5 separate regions of the Homo sapiens genome follow, and all the other regions are linked to region 3. The links are contacts of gene promoters, found by promoter capture Hi-C in blood cells and fetal thymus (Javierre and others, 2016). All regions are on one chromosome and are shown on one strand. The core of a region is centred on a gene start or on the middle of the fragment in contact, and the rest is flanking DNA. Distances in the headings are between cores, read along the strand shown. Region 1 has its middle 70 kb from the start of PHTF1. Region 2 overlaps MAGI3 (membrane associated guanylate kinase, WW and PDZ domain containing 3). Region 3 holds the start of RHOC (ras homolog family member C). Region 4 overlaps MAGI3 (membrane associated guanylate kinase, WW and PDZ domain containing 3). Region 5 overlaps MAGI3 (membrane associated guanylate kinase, WW and PDZ domain containing 3).

Region 1 (4,155 bases), core at 1,602-4,101, 980 kb before region 3:
AGGCAGATATCTTTTCTTCTCAGTTATCTTCTGAATGGCATCTGTGAACTCGTCTGCTGCTTCTTCATCAGCAAATCTACTTTCCTTTTGCTTTGTCATATAACTTTGCTTTTTCTTGAATCACATTGGAATCTATAGATATGCCTTAGAGCACTCCCATACCCACATGAAGCTGCATTTTAAATGCAAGTTAAAAGCTATTTCACAAAAAGTGCAAGGTTTTCATGCCTGGTGGCATAACTGCAGCAAAAGCTTCATGAGTTTTTCTTTTCTTTCCTCCCTCCCTCCCTCCCTCCCTCCCTCCCTCCCTCCCTCCCTTCCTTCCGTCCTTCTTTCTTCTCTTTCCTTCTTTCTTTTACAATGGTCCTTATGCTGGACTCATTTATCTTGAAATGGTGGGCAACCACAGACCCCAATCTATGGTATCAAGCAACTCAACTTTTTCTTGTAATGTCATGACTCTTCTGTGCTTCTTGGGAGCACTTCTATGACTGGTGGTGCTTCATATGGGTCCTGCAGTTTTTATGTCCTCAAGGTTTACAGTATTGCACTAACCATGAAAAATATGCAAGAACCGCAAGGGATCACTTTTTACTGTGATCCACGGTTTATGGAGAGATGAACTGCTCACACAGAGATGATTAGCATCACATGGTGTTTTAAACAGATCTTTTGACACTTGAGTTCACCACAATAGCAACAGGAGGTAACTACAAAATAATTATAGTAGCTCAGTATGTACTACAGTTAATTTTATGCAGTTATGATTTAATACTGTATCTTTGTTTACATTTCTCTCAACCGTGAATGGTGCCATGTACAGTTTGTTTGTATGTTTTTATAAATTTTAACTTTTTATAATAGATTTGTGTGTATTTTATAGTAAATGATAAAATAGGCTAGTATCTATATAACTTTTTAATTTTTCTATATTTCTAGGCTACATGGTTTGTTTTTTCAAATTGCCACAAATCTCAAAAAAATTTTCCAATATACTTACAGAAAAAGGCCTGTATATAAGTGGACCCACACCATTCAAACCCATGTTGTTCAAGGATCAACTGTAATTTCATGGTTCTCCCACCTTCAGTGCCTCATTTATCCCTGTATAATAATTTCTAGGAACTTGGGCTTTTGTTTTGATTTCAAAAAAGGAATGAGATTTTGGTGATAATTACTTGTTACTGAGAAATTAAACCAAGATGTAAAAACAATTAGATTAGGCCATTCATACATTTAGTTGGAATAGTAATAACCATAGAAGGGTAAGAAAAATACCTGTTGACTTAATTTTATAATCTGCAGTTATATTGGGAAAAATTATCTCTCCTAAAGTTGCTGTGGGTGTATAATATACCACAGGGGTCCCCAGCCACCCACACCCACGCTGAACAGCAGGAGGTGAGCTGCAGGTGAGAGTGAAGCTTCATCTGTATTTACAGCTGCTCACACTGCTTGCATTACTGCCTGAGCTCCACCTCTGTCAGGTCACCTCTGTCAGGTCAGCAGCAGCATTGGATTCTTAGAGGAGCGTGAACCCTGTTGTGGACTGTGCATGCGAGGATCTAGGTCGTGTGCTCCTTATGAGAATCTAATGCCTGATGATCTGTCACTGTCTCCCGTCACTTCCAGATGGGACGTCTAGTTGCAAGAAAACAAGCTTGGGGCTCCCACTGATTCTACATTATGGTGAGTTGTATAATTATTTCATTATATATTACAATGAAATAATAAAGTGCACAGTAAATGTAATGCACTTGAATCATCCTGAAACCACCCCCTCCCTGCATCCCTTCTCCCTGCCCCCAGGTCCGTGGAAAAATTGCCTTCCATGAAATCAGTCTCTGGTGCCAAAAAGGTTGGGGACTGCTGATCTACAGACTTTCTAAATATGTACAATATGGCCCATGTATAATATAAACACTTTGAGAAGTTGAATAACCAAATACTTGCCTCATTGGAGTATGGTTCTGACTTTCAGAGACAGGTAGAAAAATTCTAAATACCAGGATGTCTCACAAAGTATAGTTTGTTTTTATTTTAGGTTCATTTTATTTAGAGGCAAGTGGACCTATGCAGTTTAAAAATAATCTTTCAAATTAATGAAATTTATGTGTGAAAACTTTTAGATCTACACACTCATAATAGGCTAGATGAGTCTCTCTTCCAAATACAGTGTGTCACTTGGGAGTTAATTCATTAAACCTAATCTATTCATGTACTGGCTAGTTTAGTAATCCTTTGCTCCCTGCTGTTATTGGGGCCCATGTTGAATAGTGAAGTGTGAGTTTCACAAATGTGCAATAATTCTATACCTTTCCTGCAGCATATCCTGAGCCTATAAGGTATAATAGGGTATTACTCTAGTTAATAAATGGTTGTCTTTTATTTTTCTATTTTTTTTTTTTTTAATTTTTTTGAGATGGAGTCTCGCTCTGTCACCCAAGCTGGAGTGCAGTGGTGCGATCTTGGCTCATTGCAACTTCTGCCTCCCAGGTTCAAGTAATTCCCCTGCCTCAGCCTCTTGAGTAGCTGGGACTACAGGCGCGTGCAACCACGCCTGGCTAATTTTTTGTATTTTCAGTAGATACGGGATTTCACTGTGTTAGCCAGGATGGTCTCGATCTCCTGACCTCGTGATCCACCTGCCTCGGCCTCCCAAAGTGTTGGGAATACACGCGTGAGCCACTGTGCCCAGCCGATTATCTTTTATTAAGGACAAAATATGTCTCTTGATTTGTGTATTTGCTAATAGTTAGGCTTGACTTGAATGCAGTATTGCAAAATACCCACAGGATTATTTGTCAAGATATAGGTTTAGGCTAAATTAAAGCTCTTGGCTATGTTTTCCTATTTTAATGTATACATAAGAAAGATTCAGAGTTTTCTATTAAATAGAATTTTTTTTTTTTTTTTTTGAGACAGTTCTTGCTCTGTCGCCAGGCTGGAGTGCAGTGGCATGATCTCAGCTCCCTGCAACCTCCGCCTCCTAGGTTCAAGCGATTCCCCTGCCTCAGCCTCCCAAGTAGCTGAGATTATAGGCATGCGCCACCACACCCAGCTATTTTTTTGTATTTTAGTAGAAATGGGTTTCACCATGTTGGCTAAGATGGTCTTGATCTCCTGACCTCCTGATCCACCTGCCTTGGCCTCCCAAAGTGCTGGAATTACAGGCGTGAGTCACCGCGCCCAGCCAGAATTCTAACTCCTTATAAGCCTTCATACTCCCTTATTATACTACTTAAAAAAAAATTTTTTTTTTTTTGGCTGGGCACAGTGGCTCACACCTGTAACCCCTGCACTTTGGGAAGCTGAGGTGGGCAGATCACCTGAGATCAGGGGTTTGAGACCAGCCTGGCCAACATGGTGAAACCCCATCTCTACCAAGAAGTACAAAAATTAGCTGGGTGTGGTAGTGTGCGCCTGTAGTCCTAGCTACTGGGGAGGCTGAGGTGGGAGAACTGCTTGAACCCAGGAGGCAGAGGTTGCAGTGAGCCAAGATCGTGCCACTGCACTCCAGCCTGGGTGGCAGAGTGAGACCCCATCTCAAGGGGAAAAAAAAGAAAAAGATTTATTTTTGAGATGGGGGTCTCACTGTGTCATCCAGGCTGGACTCAAACTCCTGGGCACAAGTGATCCTCCCAGCTCAGCCTCCTGAGTAGTTTGGACTACAGGTGTCTACTACCATGCCTGGCTTTATAATTCTTAAGGCTACTTGCCTAGCAATGTTGAAAAAATATCCAACTTAGTTGATATATTAAGTTAATTCAGCTAGCTAAAAGCAAAGATTATAGATTCCATGTAATAATGACATGCTTTAAACAAGTCATATTCCCGATAAACTCTAATAGAACCAGAAAAGAGCCACCCGAATAAATAAATGTTATTGTTTCAAAGCACAAATAGTTTTTAGGCCTTGGAGCATGCCATGATGATGTAAAAACTTGCTCTGATGTATTCCTCATACCAGACTGAAATGTCACATTTTGTAACAAGTTTATTTATATCAATGTTCCTTAGCTCCACTGTGGACTAAGCTTCAACTTAAATACAGCTTTCTGGAAGTCATTAGTGAGACTGTTTGTTTTATACAGTTTAATCTGAATACTCCTTGCCTTATAAATCCTTACTCTTTGAATGGTGGACATATTAAAC
Region 2 (4,165 bases), core at 599-3,098, 960 kb before region 3:
TCTCAGTTATCTCGATATTCCTGTACTCACTAGAAATTTCCATAAGTTCTTCCACATTTGCTTCCTGGGTATGTCAATTTCAAGTTACCTGTCTCTAAACTTTACTGCCCAGTATAGAGTTCGATTGTCTTCGGTCGCTGTAAATTCATGGTTACTATTAAGGAGATGGAAAATGATGGGGAAAATTCCATTTGCCAATGAGATGACTGGGAGATACTTGTACCTTTGCATGTGGTCAAGAGAGATAATTTATCGGCGTTACTAGCTTGGCTATTGTAATGAGTGTATAACATCAGAGCAGGACAATAGAAGTAATCTGATCAATTTCAAGTTTTCCTCTACCTTCCATTCCAGATGAGACATTTCAGTTCCAGGCAAAATGTACCACAAATTGGTGCTTACTTTTAAAGTTACATGTTTTTGGCCGGGCGCGGTGGCTCACGCCTGTAATCCCAGCACTTTGGGAGGCTGAGGCGGGTGGATCATGAGGTCAGGAGATCGAGACCATCCTGGCTAACAAGGTGAAACCCCGTCTCTACTAAAAATACAAAAAATTAGCCGGGCGCGGTGGCGGGCGCCTGTAGTCCCAGCTACTCGGGAGGCTGAGGCAGGAGAATGGCGTGAACCCGGGAAGCGGAGCTTGCAGTGAGCCGAGATTGCGCCACTGCAGTCCGCAGTCCGGCCTGGGCGACAGAGCGAGACTCCGTCTCAAAAAAAAAAAAAAAAAAAAAAAAGTTACATGTTTTTTGTTGTTTTGTTGTCTTCATCAAATTTAAGTAAAACTTCCTATCACTGGGATTCTTTTCATTTTTAGTCCTTCAACCCGTGCTACATGGCTTCTCCATTTTTTTTCTGTTATAAGCTATTTTACTTCACAAAGTCAAATATTTATTCCATAATGTCAAACAGGCCTATCTTCTCTCTGAATTTTATTTGAAAATTCTTAAAATAGTAAAGCAATGGGTTAAGTATATCTCTCCTTCGATGAGAATTACATTTTTGCTGGGCTTTCTGTCTGTAAGTATAGGTATGCCTTATTTTAGTACACTTCATTTTATTGCATTTTTTATAAATTGAAGGTTTATGGCAACCCTGCATTGGGCGAGTCTATTAGTGCCATTTTTCCAACAGCATGTGCTCACTTTCATGTCTCTGTGTCACATTTTGGTAATTCTTCCAAAATTTCTAACTTTTTCATTATTATTATATCTGTTATGGTGATCTGTGGTCAGTGATCTTTGATATTTATATTCTTGTACCCACTGGAAATTCCCAGGTCTTCCACCTTTGCTTACTGGGTATGTCAATTTCAAGTTACTTGTCTCTAATTGTTTTTGGGTGCCACAAATCACACCCATATAAAATGGCAAACATAATCGATAAATATGTGTGTGCTGGCTCCATCAACTAGCCTTTCCCCATCTTTCTCCCTCTCCTCAGGCCCCTCTATTCCCTGAGATGCACAATATTGATCATGCCAATTAATAACCCTACAATGACCTCTATGTATTCAAGTGAAAGAAAGAGTTGCATATCTCTCACTTTACGTCAAAAGCTAGACTTGATTAAGCTTAGTGAGGAAGGCTTGTTGAGACCTGAGACAGGCTGAAAGCTAGACCTCTTGTACCAGTTAGCCAAGTTGTGAATGCAAAAGAAAAGTTCTTGAAGAAAATTGTAAATATTACTCCAGTGAACAAATGAGTGACAAGAAAATGAAACAGCCTTATTGCTGGATATGGAGAAAGTTTTAGTGGTCTGGATAGAAGATCAAACCAGCCACAGTATTTCCATAAGCCAAAGCCTAATCCAGAGCAAGGCCCTAACTTTCTTCCATTCTGAGAGCTGAGGAAGCTGCAGAAGAAAAGTGTGAAGCTAGAAGAAGCTGGTTCATGAGGTTTAAGGAAAGAAGTCATCTCTATAATATAAAACTGCAAGGTGAAGCAGCAAGTGCTGATACAGAAGCTGCAGCAACTTTTCCAGAAGATTCAACTAATATCATTGGTGAAGGTGGCTACACTAAACAACAGATTTTCAAGGTAGACAAAACAGCCTCTTATTAGAAGAAGATGCCATCTAGGACTTTCATAGCTAGAAAGGAGAAGTCAATGCCTGGCTTCAAAGCTTCAAAGGCAGCTGACTCTCTTGCTAGGGGCTAATGCAGCTGGTAAATTCATGTGCTCATTTACACTCCAAAAATCTTAGGGCCCTTAAGAATTATGCTAAATCTACTCTGCCTATGCTCTAAAAATGGAACAATAAAGCCTGGATGACAGCACATCTGTTTACAGCATGATTTACTGAATAATTTAATCCCACTGTTGAGACCTACTGCTCAGAAAAAAAGATTCCTTTCAAAATATTACTGCTTACTGACAAAGCACCTAGTCACTCAAGAGCTCTGATGGAGAAATACAAGGAGATAAATGTTGTTTTCATGAGTTCCAATACAACATCCATTCTGTAGCCCATGGATCAAGGAGTAATTTTGACTTTCAAGTCTTAGTATTTTAAGAAATATATTTGGTAAGTCTATAGCTGCCACAGATAGTGATTTTTCTACGGGTCTAGGCAAAGCAAACTGAAAACCTGGAAAGGTTTCTAGACGACATTAAGAACATTCGTGATTCATGGGGAAGAGGTCAAAAATATCAACATTAACGGGAATTTGGAATAATTTGATTCTAGTTCCCATGGATGACTTTGAGAGGTTCAAGACTTCAGTGGAGGAAGTAACTGCAGATGTGGTAGAAACAGCAAGGAACAGAATTAGAAGTAGAGCCTGAAGTTGGGACTGAATTGCTGTAATCTCATGACAAAACTTGAACAGGTGAGGATTTGCTTCCTACGGATGAGCAAAGAAGTGGCTTCTTGAGATGGAATCTACTCCTGGTGAAGATGCTGTGAACACTGTTGAAATGACCACAAAGGATTTAGAATAGTACATAACCTTAGTTGATAAAGTAGAGGCAAAGTTTGAGAGGACAAAGTCCAATTTTGAAAGAAGTTTTACTGTGGGTAAAATGCTATCAAACAGCATCACATGCTACAGAGAGATCTTTGGTGAAAGAAAGAGTCAATGTGGCAGACTTTATTGTCTTATTTTAAGAAATTGCTACAGCCACCTCAACCTTCAGTAACTACCACCCAAATCAGTCAGCAACCATCAACATCGAGGCAAGACCCTCCATCAGCATAAAGATTAAGACTTACTAAAGGCCCAGATGATCATTAGCATTTCTTAGCAATAAAGTATACTTTCATTAAGGTATGTATATTGTTTTTTAAGACATACTGCTATTGCACACTTAAGAGACTACAGTATAGTGTAAATATAACTTCTATATGCACTAGAAAACCAAAAAGTTCATGTGATTCACTTTATTGCAATATTCACTACCTAATGGCAGTGGCCTATAACTGAACCTGCAGTATCTCCAAGGTATGCCTATAATAATACACTTAAAAGAAAGTGTATTTTCAAAAGATAAAAACAAAATCCACAGTTAAACTACAGCAATAAACATTATAATCTATTGAGACTCACCTTACCAAGAGTAAATAAGAACCCTATGAGAGAACATACTAGAACTCTAAAACTCTATTAAAGGACATAAAAGATGAGCTGAATAATTGGAAATACAGTCCATGATCTTTGGTGAGATGACTTAATATGTAAAGATATTCTCCACCCCCAAAATATATATACATACACACATATATATTTATATACGCGTATACACAATATATCCCCAAAAAACTGCACTTTGATTTTTTTTGGAGGAGCTTAATAATTTGTTCTAAAATTTTATATAGAAAAGTTCCATGAATATGTAGTCAATTTTGAGAAACAGGGAGACAGATAGGTTTTCCCTAATAAGCAGATATATTAGGATGTATCACAAACTTACAGATAAAAAAATAAAAAATACACACACACACATATCATCAGCCCAAGAACAAATAAACTAATAGAACAGAATAGAGGACTTGGAGACTCATGTTTAAAGGGGAAGTTGATATATAGGAGAGATGGCATCACAAATAAATAAGGCAAAGAAGTGCTGTCTAATAGCTGGTGTTGGGAAATCTGGCTCATCTTAAGAATAAAAAATAAAACTACATCCCTCCTAAAACTACATACAAAGGTAGGCTCCAGATGGATTAA
Region 3 (3,605 bases), core at 968-3,467:
CCTGGGGTTTGCATAACTGTGGGCTTTTAGTAGCTCCAACTTATTCAAAATCTACTGCTGGACACGGTGGTTCACGCCTGTAATCCCAACACTTTGGGAGGCAGAGGTGAGAGGACTGCTAAGCCCAGGAGTTTAAGACCACCCTGGGCAATAGTGAGACCCCATCTCTACAAAAAAATAAAAAATTAGCTGAATGTAGTGGTGAGTGCCTGTGGGAAGCAGTTAAGCATCCAAGGAAATTAAGAGTATTGCTTATAGTAGAAAAGAATAAAGATCTCAAATCAGTGATCTGTTTCCACCTTAAGAGGCTAGAAAAAGAACAGCAAATTAAACCCAAAGTAAGTTAAGGGAAGCAAAAATAAAGATGAGCAAAATAATTAGAAAAGGCCCCTCACCAGCCTGGGCAATATAGCAAGACCTCATCTGTACAAAAAATACAAAAATTAGGTGTGATGGTACACGCCTGTAGTCTCAGCTGCTGGGGAAGCTGAAGTGGGAAAATCATTGGAGCCTGGAAAGTTGAGGCTGCAGTGAGCTGAGATCTTGCCACTGCACACTTAGGCAACAGAGACCTTGTCTCAAAAAAAAATTAAAATTAAAAAAATCTACACATCACCTTATCTTGAGAACTTCACCTGTTGTTCAGGACTGGGTATCGCACAGCCCACACATGCCCACACTACAGCAATGACCTCCGGTATTGTAACTGTCTACATTAGGAGTCAGTAGGGAGTAGGAATTAAGAACAGGGGCTCTAGAGTTCAGCTGTTTGGGTTCTAGTGTCAGACCCAGCACTAGCTCTGTAACCTCTCTGAACCTCAATTTGCTTCTCAGTAAAATGGAGATAGCTACCTCATGGGATTCTTGTAGTTAATGTATGTGGACCCAGGTCCATGTAATATGGATTCAATAAATGTTAGCTATCTTGAAATTGCATTCCTCATTTAGACTCTAAGTTGTTTGAAGGCAGAAATGGATCTTCCGAACATAGCTCTCAGTTCACCCTCGAGAAATGTTCATTGAGTCAGTTAAGAGGCCTGGGGCCAAACTGCTGCGGACCTGTTTTCACATTTGTCAAATGTCTGGATTGCACTTCAGATATTTAAAGTCTGTATGACTCCTAACATTCATTCATTCATCAAATATTTGTTGACAACCTATTATGTGCCACTCACTCTGCTAGACAACGGGGGAAGGGACAGGCTGGAGGAGCCCGTGAGGTAGCAGGGCCAGACCACCAGTTTGGAGCCAGACAGGCCCGGCTGTGTGAATTCTTGCTGTCACAAGTCAAAAACAGTTGTGTAAGCCACTTGATTTCTCTGAACCTCAGCTTCTCTATGGGCAAAAGGGGATGGGTATATTTTCCCCAGAGATCTGTGATGAATATTGAAAGGGTTAAGCTGTGTAGTGTCCCAAGCACAAGCCAATGAAATGTTGGTGGACGTCCTCATTCTACTCCCACCTCCTCAGCTCCCTTACAGGGAAAGGAGATACGCGTGTAGGTAAATATCCTATGCGCCAAGTCAGACCTAGGAGTGGGAACAGAATTCACAGCTGGGATCCAGAAGCATTTCTAGGCGCACCCTTTGAGGAGTAGGTAGGAATTGGACTCCTGGAAATTCCAGGCCCAGGGAAGAAAGCGAATTGTGAGGAGGAACGGTGGTCTGGGTCTGAACGGCTCTGAGAGGTCTTCAAGTTTGGGGGATGACGTTGGGCTGTACGATCCTAGGAACAAGAGGGTGGACATCTCCCCCCAACCAACACACCCGCGCCGGGCCCTGGGACCTCCCGGCGGATACCCTTTCCCAGTCCCGCTTCCCGCGAGGTCCCAGGTGCAGCAGGAGCGGGTGGCCGCTTGGCCACAGGAGGGCAGCAGCGGCCCTTCCTGACCCCACCCCGAGCACCTCTTAACTTTCCCGACGCCGGTCCTCCCCTAGGGGATTGAAGGCTGGGCAGAGTCTGAGTCCACCCGGGTCGTGCTCCCCCCGCTCGCCCGGCTCCTCCGCAGTCCAGGAATCTCCCCGTGGCTCTCCCCGACCTGGAGGGGTGGACGCCCCTGGCCCCCAGTCCCCGGCCTGCGGAGGGGGCCGGTGGCTGCGGCCCTGCGCGGGGCCGGGGCGGGCCGAGCCAAGGGCCGCCCCCGGCCGACCCTCCCCCTGCCGGGCCCGCCCTCCCCGCCGCGGCGCTGGAGGAGGGCGGGGCGGGGCCCTGGGGTCAGTCTGAGCCTCCGGCACCGGCCGCGCAGCTGGAGGCGGCGGAGCGGAAGGTACCCTGGGCCGGGGCTGCGGGCGGTGGGGCGTCTTGGGAACTCGTCCCCAGGAGAGCACTTTCCCTTCCTCGCTGGCCCGGAGATCGGGGCCCGTGCGAGGAGGGGCTTCGGCCTGGGCGTGGACCCCGTTCCCTCCAAGCGGAGTCGGCATCCGGGCTGGGCGGTGGTCGGACCGCGTCGGCCCCTCCCCGGGCTGCAGCGAGGGGGCCCGGACCTGCCGGCAGGGGCTCTGGCCTCCTGAGGTCCGAGTCGGAGCCCCTTCCCTTCTCCTCCCAGCTTCCCGGAACCTGCCCCGCCGGGCGAGGGGCGAGGGAACTTCAACTCAGACGCCCCAGCCCCCAGGGTGGGCGGCCGCAGGGGACCTAGAGTGGGATGGGGTGGGAATTCCTCCAGGCCAGGAGGGAGGTATGGCGGGAATAGGGGCGGGATGTGACCATTGGGGCCTGCCACTGCTCGGCAGGGTCTGGACGCCGCCCTGGACGGTTCCTGGAGCCCGCTTGTGTTGAGGATAAGGGAGATGGGGAAGGATCCAACTCTGTGTGTGTGTGTGTGTGTGTGTGTGTGTGTGTGTGTGTGTGTGTGTGTGTGTGTGTGTGTGTGTGTGTGTGTGGTGTGTGTGTGTGTGTGTGTGTGTGTGTGTGTGTAGAGAGAGAGAGAGAGAGAGAAAATGAGATTGAGAATCCTCCTTCTTCATACTCGAACCAAGAAAGAGTATCCTGGGGTTTGGGACTGGGATCCCGAGGCCGAGTCCCGCCCTCACTCTGGTTTTAAAGTTGAGAATGCAGTATCTCTTGGTATCTCCAGAACGGATTCCTTCCCTAGGTGTAGGGTGGGCCGGCAAAGTCAACCGGCCGCTCTGGATCATCTGGGAATTCAAGAGAGCGATTGGAGAGAGGTCTGATGTAGCCACACTGTCTTGTCTTGGGGAAGGCCCCAGAAGTTCCAGGCTCCATTCCAGGCCCTGTGTGGGGCTCAGTTGCCCCTCTTAAGGGGTCAGTGGGACAGTCCCTCTGGGGCTGCCTCTCACAGGGAGTTGTCCATGCCATCTTGGCCTTGGGCCTAGTGTCCTGGCCTGGGCTGCCTGCTGTTCTGGCCCAATCATAGCCTGGAGGGAAAGTCTTCTAATTGGGCTGGAGGCTCCAGGTCCCTTAACGCATGCCTCAACCCCGGGTTTCTGTCCTCTGCCTCCCACCACTCTGGTGCCGTCTGAATTACCCTGCTGGGGGGACAGCAGTGGCATACTCATGCCTAAGTGACTGGCTTTCACCCCAGTAGTGATTGCCCTCCATCAACACTGCCCACCCCAGGTTGGGGCTACCCCAGCCCATCTTTACAA
Region 4 (3,689 bases), core at 16-2,515, 740 kb before region 3:
AAGTGGTCATTTCAGCATGTCTGTAAGCAGCACTTATAATGGAATGCTTCAGAATCCCTTTTGAGAGCTAAGGAAGTAATTGTGAAGAAACGTTTATTATCCATCCACCCTCATTTACCTAACCAGTTGGGTGATTGCCAATGGAAGGTGGGTAGACAGGAGAAAAAAGTAATGTGTACAGACACACTGCCATAGCAATTAACATCACATTTATTTCTACTACATGTTTACCTTTTCTAGAAAACATGTACAAAAATAGAAAAGACAATGTTGCAGAATAAAAACCACTGCACAGATGAAATTGTTAATAGTTGGGATTATTTTCTCTTCTTAATGCCGTGTTCCCCAGGGAAATATACATATAGTTGCTTGATCATACTACCCATTTCCACCTCCAAAAAAAAAATTCCCTCCTTAATTGATGTCTATTTCCTTATAAGGAACAAAAGTCTCAAAAATAACATTGTTCCAGCAATGATCTTCCTTAGGACATTTTCGAGAACACTTGGCATCAAAAAGTGAGTCTTATGGTGTACCATAAATGAGAAGGGTGATAAAACTGCATATGTAGGGAGTTTTAAAATATATAATATTGTGTACAATTTTAAAGATTTATAAATCTGCACAGTTTTGATTATTTTCTTTAACATATATAAATTATTAAAACAAATCCAAGATGATGAAGAGTATCTGAAGAAACCAGAGAAGAAAAATAGTCAACTATCTGTATACTCTCAAAGCTGTTTACGATGAGATCAATTTTACAGGTTAAAGCCTGTAATAAGCCTTATAGAAAGTTTATCAGTCCATTCTTCAAGCTAACATAATCCTGATAACAAACGGAGTAAGGATAGCTTCCTCTAATACACATGATGGACCAATTTCATTTATGCAGATATACTGAAAAATTTTTCTTTTGAAAAGTTAAAAATTCCTTTATTTTTCATTCCTGGTACCACTACCACAATTTACAGGGCAATATACTTGATGTAATGAAAAGAAAAAGAAAAAGACAAAGCTACAACAGATAAAAGACCTCAGGAATGTACATCTAATTGACACTACATTGCATTAATCAATAACTGCACTTTTTGCAAACTGTGGCTATGACAGTCCTGAACAAGAAGGGTTTCCTGTTTAAGCTGCAATAACTTTTCTGACTATGGATCATCGTTCCTTCTGTGGCAGATTTTTACAGTTCCTCTAATGCATTTGGGAGGACTGTCTCAAAGTAAGCTGCAGTTTTCCTGACAACTCCTCGCTCTCTCTCCTACTAAGAACTGTAGCCCTTTTCTGCTGTTTTTCGAACCTTCTGCTACCATATCCACCACTTCCACCACCAGATCCATAACCACCACCATAGGGACTGCCCGAGCTTCTTCCACCAGAACTGTCCCCTTTCACGGGTCCATAATTTGATTGCTGTTGTCCACTATAATTTCCAAAATCATTATAGTTCCCACCACCACCATAGTTACCACCGCCAAAATTTCCTCCTTCATTGTAACCATCATATCCTCCACCACCTCCACCATATCCACCACCTTGGTTTCCATATCCTGGTCCACCACCACCATAGCCCCCTCTACTACTATAACCAGGACCACACCATAGTTGCCACCATCACCTCCAAATCCATTATATCCACCATCACCTCCTCCATAACTACCTCTGCTGCCACCACCTCCACCACCATAGCTCCTCCACCACCTCCAAAGTTTCCTCCGCGACCCATAAAATTGCCAGATCCACCTCCACGACCTCTCTGTGATCCAGCAGACTGCATCTCTTGTTTAGAAAGGGCCTTTTTCACTTCACAATTATGCCCATTAATAGTGTGGTATTTCTGAACAACAATTTTATCAACTGTATCATGCTCATCAAAAGTTACAAAAGCAAATCCTCTTTTTCCCACTCTGCCTGTCTTCCGTAACTTCTATGGTTTCAATTTTGCCATACTTTTCAAAGAAGTCTCTCAAATTATATTCTTCTGTATCTTCTTTAATACCACCAACAAAAATTTTCTTCACTGTTAGATGGGCACCAGGCTTTACAGAATCCTCTCTAGAAACAGCTGTCTTTGGTTCCACTACACGCCCATCAACCTTGTGTGGTCAAGCACACATTGCTGCATCCACCTCTTCAACACAAGAATAAGTCACAAAACCAAAGCCCCTGGAACGTTTTGTTTGGGGGTCTCTCATTACCACACAATCTGTGAGTGTGCCCCATTTCTCAAAATGTTCTCTTAAACTATCATCTGTAGTTTCAAAGCTCAGACCACCAATAAACAGTTTTCTCAACTTCTCTGGTTCCTTTGGATCATGGCCCTCCATTTTGAGACCAGACTCGCCTCTTCCAACTCGAGTTCAATATCGATATACTGAAAAATTTTTTAATCAGCAAACTGAATGTTGATAATAAACTCAATCTATTGGGAAAAAAAAATGCACTTGCAGATAATTTATCCAGAATCTCCAGGATCTACTCTGTTCTGGATGGATGTCGTCTCCAACGGTCTGGAAATTTTAACCCCCAAATGTTAAAATGATGAAAAAATATAGATCCAGCCCCAAATCTTCTAAGTGAATTCATTTGTTTTTTCTTAATATTACATGATTTAAGGATTGAAGCCTCTCTCTCTGTCACACACACACACACACACACACACACACCATAAAAGTAATGCAACACTTATAAAGGATTTATTTGCTGCCTCAAAGTAAGACTAAACGAGGAAATTCACCACTCATGCATTATCTGCTATTCCACTGTGACGTCATTCTCATCAATTACGATCAGCAACTTCTTATCTATTTTGCTTAGACTAGGCATCTATGTCCTCATTAACTTTTTACTATCCAGCATATCACATTATTGCCCCCTGATATTGCAAAATATTCTTTTTTTTTTTTTTTTGAAATGAAGTTTTGCTCTTGTTGCCCAGGGGAGTGCAATAGCGTGATCTCGGCTCACCACAACCTCTGCCTCCCAGGTTCAAGCAATTTCCCTGCCTCAGCCTCTCAGGTAGCTGGGATTACAGGCATGCACCACCACGCTGGGCTAATTTTGTATTTTTAGTAGAGATGGGGTTTCTCTATGTTGGTCAGGCTGCTCTTGAACTCCCGACCTCAGGTGATCTGCCCACCTCGCCTCTCAAAGTGCTGGAATTACAGGCGTGATCCACTGTGCCCGGCCTCTTTTTTATGTTTTATTTTTTAGCAACTAATGTAACATTAAAAATGCATCGAGGGCCGGGTATGGTGGCTCATGCCTGTAATCCCAGCACTTTGGGAAGCCAAGGTGAGGTGGGAGGATAGCTTGAGCTCAGCCTGGGCAACATGGTGAGATCCCATCTCTTAAAAAAAAAAGGCATTTAGATCATAATACCATAAATCATTGCTTTAAAAGAAATTAGGGTTACCTACAGGAAGAAATCTCACTATTAATCTGAGGAGGCATGTCACAGCAACCAAAGAACTCTGATATTAGTTTATAGGACAAGAATGCAGAAATACTGCCACACACAAATTATTTATCAATTAAAAAACATTTCGTATCCAATATTTAACGGAATATCTGACAATTCTGCTCTTATACTGGTGATATAATGTGAAAGGAGAAGGGTAGGTTCAAATTTCCCAGTTACTTCAACTCCCAAACAGTAGCCTCAGTGAAGAAAGGATCTT
Region 5 (3,806 bases), core at 267-2,766, 690 kb before region 3:
TGAAGAAGCATAAAACTCTGCACAATTAGAGTCTGGGGAATTTCAGAACAAAATTCACTACTTGTATATTAATCAGAATAGAAATGGTTTAAGAATATATACTCTGTAGTAAAATCAAAGAAACTAAACCTAGTCATAGTAGTATATCACAAAACAATTTCACCAGAGGTCCAAAGTTCAACTTTACTACTGGGAAAAGACAAAGTTCAAACTCAAATGACAACTTTTCTCTTTGCAGAAAAATAAACAACAGGGTCATAATTAAGAAACAAGTAACTAATCGAGCCAAGCAATAGGTGAAACCAAAGATTCTTCTATAAGCGGGCAAAGTACTGACTACTAAGTACTACACTAAAACAATAAGAAACTACCTAATTGATTCAGGAAAAGCTTCAGATTAGAAACCATATTTTAAAGAGTAACTTTCAATTCTCTATTAAAGATTATAACAACAAAAAAAGGGAAAAAAAATCAAAGCTAAAGACAGTAGCTGCCAGAAAGATGTTAAGTCACCTGGCTGATAGTACTGGCTTTGGGAGGGCGACCCTTAGCACCTAAGTGAAAAGAAGGCTAGGAAGAATCAGTGCTACAAAAGCCATGTTCTACAACCCAGCTCATCCTTCTGCCATGGACTTTGTCAGAAGACAATATGAGAACATTTCCGATTAGTATTACATCTTACAAAAATGGTTAAATTTTACTCTTTCACTGTGCTAGTCTCTAAATGTCATGTTATGAATATGGTTTAATAAAAAGCAACTAGTCAAGACAAGAGAGTGCTAAGTACACTTTACAATACCTTATTAAATTGAAAAATCAATTTCTGTCACAAAGTTTAGATAAAAGCAAAAAATAAAACAATGTTTATGGCAAGTTTCTTTTTAAATTCCCTTACTCTATTTTCATCCTTTCCAAAATGAATCACAATAAAGAATCTTTGTCTCTTCTGAAAATAATATTTGTTTTTAATCAAACTCAAAAGTTCTACAGATAACCTCTTCAAATTCTTAATTTCTAGTATTTAAAGTCTGTTTAACCTGCAAAAATCTTGCTATTTTATAACAAATGTTGCTTTTAAGCAAAGCCATTTAAGAAAGCCATTTAATATAATACCTAACATGAGGCTATTAAGAAGCTAAGAATACTATTTTTAAAAGAGATTAAAAATTTTAAATTACAACCTGCTTAGAAACAATATTAATCTCAAATAACACAGACATAATGGTATCTTGAGAAATTACTGACACAAAGTGTCTCTTCAAAAAACAAGTGTAGTATTCAGAACTTTATTACTAATGACTACAAAATGTTCTGTGGCCATTAATACGTTATTCCCTTTATTTTGGCTAAATCTTTAAAATAGAACAGTGTCTGTGGCTGTCAAGAGGGCAAAACTGTATTACTCTAATAATGTCAACTACATACGGGGGCATAGGATGTTTATTCAACACAGTTAATATTACTAATGCTCTAAATCTTGAATTATTGTTAAATATAATATAGAGGTTGAGAAAAATGTATAACAGGTAGATTAGACTAATGTTATGAAATAGCCATCTCTTCAGTCTTCTAAAAAAGATCACAATAATTTAGAATACACCAGCTTCCATGTCAATATATCAACTTTAAAATTTCTAAAAATAAGTTATATTCTCATCTATGCCCTAACGAATCAAAACAAAACACAAAGAAATGATGCAGATGTTCTCACTATTCACTAACTCATGGGATTTGAACTAAGATTTGGCAGCTAGACTAGTAAATGCTGTCTATATAGCCTTTTGCATATTACAGACAGTGCCTGACTAGCTGAATTACAGCCCCAAAAGTCTTTCCTCTGCCTTTCACACATGGCTGTAAAAGTTAGAGTTAAGAAAAAAATTTACAAATTCTCAAAACTATACAGAAAAAGCTGTTTAAAGTCTGCCAAAGTTTTAAAAAATTAACAACAATAAAAAGAAAACCTCACCACATAAACCCATACACTTAAAATGAATACGATGGAATACGCTATAGAAAGAAAATCTTAATTATGACCTTAGGAGCATGTGAGTCTGTGTGTATACATATCCACAATACACAGACATATGTAAACTGCACCACAAACCATCAAGCCCCATTAAGCTCAAGGACTATTAAAGATATATTAATATTTCCAAAGCGAGCTGCTGAGAAAGAAATGAGAAGGAGATAACATATTAAATTTTTATCCAGAATTTTCTAGCATTTTGCCATCAAGGGATGGACTGCTACCTAGCCCAGGTAACAATTAACCAGCCCATTATATTTTGATGCACCGTATACTCAGCAGAGCACATTAAGGAAAAACAGTTTGGTTTCTAATAATGTTACAATCACAATTCTCTCTCCCACAAACATCTAAGACGACAGAACCACATTCTATCTATGCTGAAACAAAACCAACAATGCTGTCTATAACAAATTCATAAGAACTACTACATACTATCAGATCTCACTGTATGCTGTCTCTGATCAATGCTTTGAAACTGACGAGTATGCCATAAACATAACGTGCTTTGCAGCAATTTTTACTAGCATAAAAGATACCAGGGCAACAGAGGCTCCTTTAACCTACCACTTCAACAAAATTCTGTAAAATCAAAAGCGTTACAGAAGCTTTCACTCCGCTAGGCACCTAGGTCTTCCTGCAAAACCCAGACTCTATTCAACAGCTCCCTGCAAGAACACACCAGTCTGCCACATATCACATATTGTACCGTCATCGGTACTCAGACACCTGAACCACCTGGACTGACAGAGTTAGGCTGTCAGCTCTGAGATGTCTGCTAGAGTGCAAGAAACACTGAAGCAGCTAAGCCCTTCCAGGTACACCAGGTGGTAACCTTGGCACCAAGTGCCTCTATAGTAAAGTCCCTTTTTCCCTGTTAGAAGATGCGTAAGATCGTTCCAAAGAAAATGTTACAATCCTAAGGGCCTTTTTGCACAACACAGGAAAAGGCTGGCCTTCTCTAGTCAAAAACTCTTGTCTGCGGGGGGAGATGGAGCTACAAATGTAGGAAACCCAGCTTCTAGTCGCAATTCTGTGACAGCTAGCACAGCTAGCAGAGCAACCGCGCCAAGCCAGAGCTCAGTTTTCCCTTCGGCAAAATGGGACTCACCAACGCCACCCCTCCCCCTCGTCAAGGAGTCTGGCACACCCTAGAGGTCTAAGATTACCCGGGACAATACGCGGTGGGGAGGTGCCGCCGCTCCCAGGACGCCCACCCTGAAGCCCCTCTCCCCAACACCCCGAGACAGATACGCAGGGCCGGCGTACCTGGTTTCACAGTCTTGAGACGGATGGGCTCGCGGAAGTGGCGGATGACAGCCAGGGTGTCCCGGTTGGTGAGCCCGCTGACAGGCGTCCCGTTTACCTCCAGCAGCACATCGCCTGGGCTGGGCGCCTTGCCCGAGACGACGCAGCAGGTGCCCCCGCCGGGCTCCTCGCGGAGCCGCCCCAGGTAGGGGAACTCGCCACGCTCCGCGCCACCGCGGATCTCCGCGCCGAAGTCGCCCGGGGGCCCGGCCCAGGACACGGCGCACTCCTGCACCTTGCTGAGCCAGTGCTTCTTCTTCTTCAGCGTCTTCGACATCCCGAACCCCGCTGCACCATGGGGGAGACCCCGCGCGGGCGGCCGGGGCGCCGCTCCGGCCCCGTCTCAGCCCGGGGGCCCTGGGCGGCCCGCGCAGCCCGGTAAGGGGGGCCTCGCCGCTCCGGCCCCCACCCCGCGACCACAGCCCGCTGGGGGCCCGGCCGTTCCCAGACGCGAGACGCCCCTTGGACG

Evidence for each region. The method cuts DNA at HindIII sites, captures the fragments that hold promoters and counts their contacts. A CHiCAGO score of 5 or more calls a contact.
Region 1: a fragment that was not itself captured here is called in contact with the fragment with the promoter of RHOC in region 3 in 6 of 17 cell types (total B cells, total CD4 T cells, naive CD8 T cells and 3 more); the score reaches 7.0 in total B cells.
Region 2: a contact is called between a fragment that was not itself captured here and the fragment with the promoter of RHOC in region 3, in 1 of 17 cell types (monocytes). The highest score is 6.3, in monocytes.
Region 4: a fragment that was not itself captured here is called in contact with the fragment with the promoter of RHOC in region 3 in 4 of 17 cell types (naive CD8 T cells, total CD4 T cells, naive CD4 T cells and 1 more); the score reaches 7.7 in naive CD8 T cells.
Region 5: a contact is called between a fragment that was not itself captured here and the fragment with the promoter of RHOC in region 3, in 5 of 17 cell types (non-activated CD4 T cells, fetal thymus, monocytes and 2 more). The highest score is 7.3, in non-activated CD4 T cells.

Annotation. Positions count from the first base shown.
Region 1 is chr1:113,687,257-113,691,411 of GRCh38, reverse strand. No RefSeq gene overlaps it. Among named protein-coding and RNA genes, the nearest start is that of PHTF1, 70 kb to the left of the region's middle. The HindIII fragment of the contact is 2,377 bases long and covers 1,663-4,039 here.
Region 2 is chr1:113,665,139-113,669,303 of GRCh38, reverse strand. The region is part of intron 16 of MAGI3 (membrane associated guanylate kinase, WW and PDZ domain containing 3); the gene reads right to left. Among named protein-coding and RNA genes, the nearest start is that of PHTF1, 92 kb to the left of the region's middle. The HindIII fragment of the contact is 551 bases long and covers 1,573-2,123 here.
Region 3 is chr1:112,705,739-112,709,343 of GRCh38, reverse strand. It overlaps RHOC (ras homolog family member C), which reads left to right and starts at 2,217. Exons shown (of 6, transcript NM_175744.5): 1 at 2,217-2,266. RefSeq lists a silencer at 1,778-2,497. The HindIII fragment of the contact is 12,151 bases long and covers 1-3,605 here.
Region 4 is chr1:113,448,347-113,452,035 of GRCh38, reverse strand. All of the region lies in intron 1 of MAGI3 (membrane associated guanylate kinase, WW and PDZ domain containing 3), which reads right to left. It also overlaps the pseudogene LOC100421402. Among named protein-coding and RNA genes, the nearest start is that of MAGI3, 60 kb to the right of the region's middle. The HindIII fragment of the contact is 5,311 bases long and covers 1-3,689 here.
Region 5 is chr1:113,390,842-113,394,647 of GRCh38, reverse strand. MAGI3 (membrane associated guanylate kinase, WW and PDZ domain containing 3) reads right to left here. Exons shown (of 21, transcript NM_001142782.2): 1 at 3,299-3,806. The coding sequence starts at 3,614. Among named protein-coding and RNA genes, the nearest start is that of MAGI3, 2.2 kb to the right of the region's middle. RefSeq lists enhancers at 3,088-3,137, 3,188-3,687 and silencers at 3,368-3,527, 3,588-3,717. The HindIII fragment of the contact is 2,247 bases long and covers 393-2,639 here.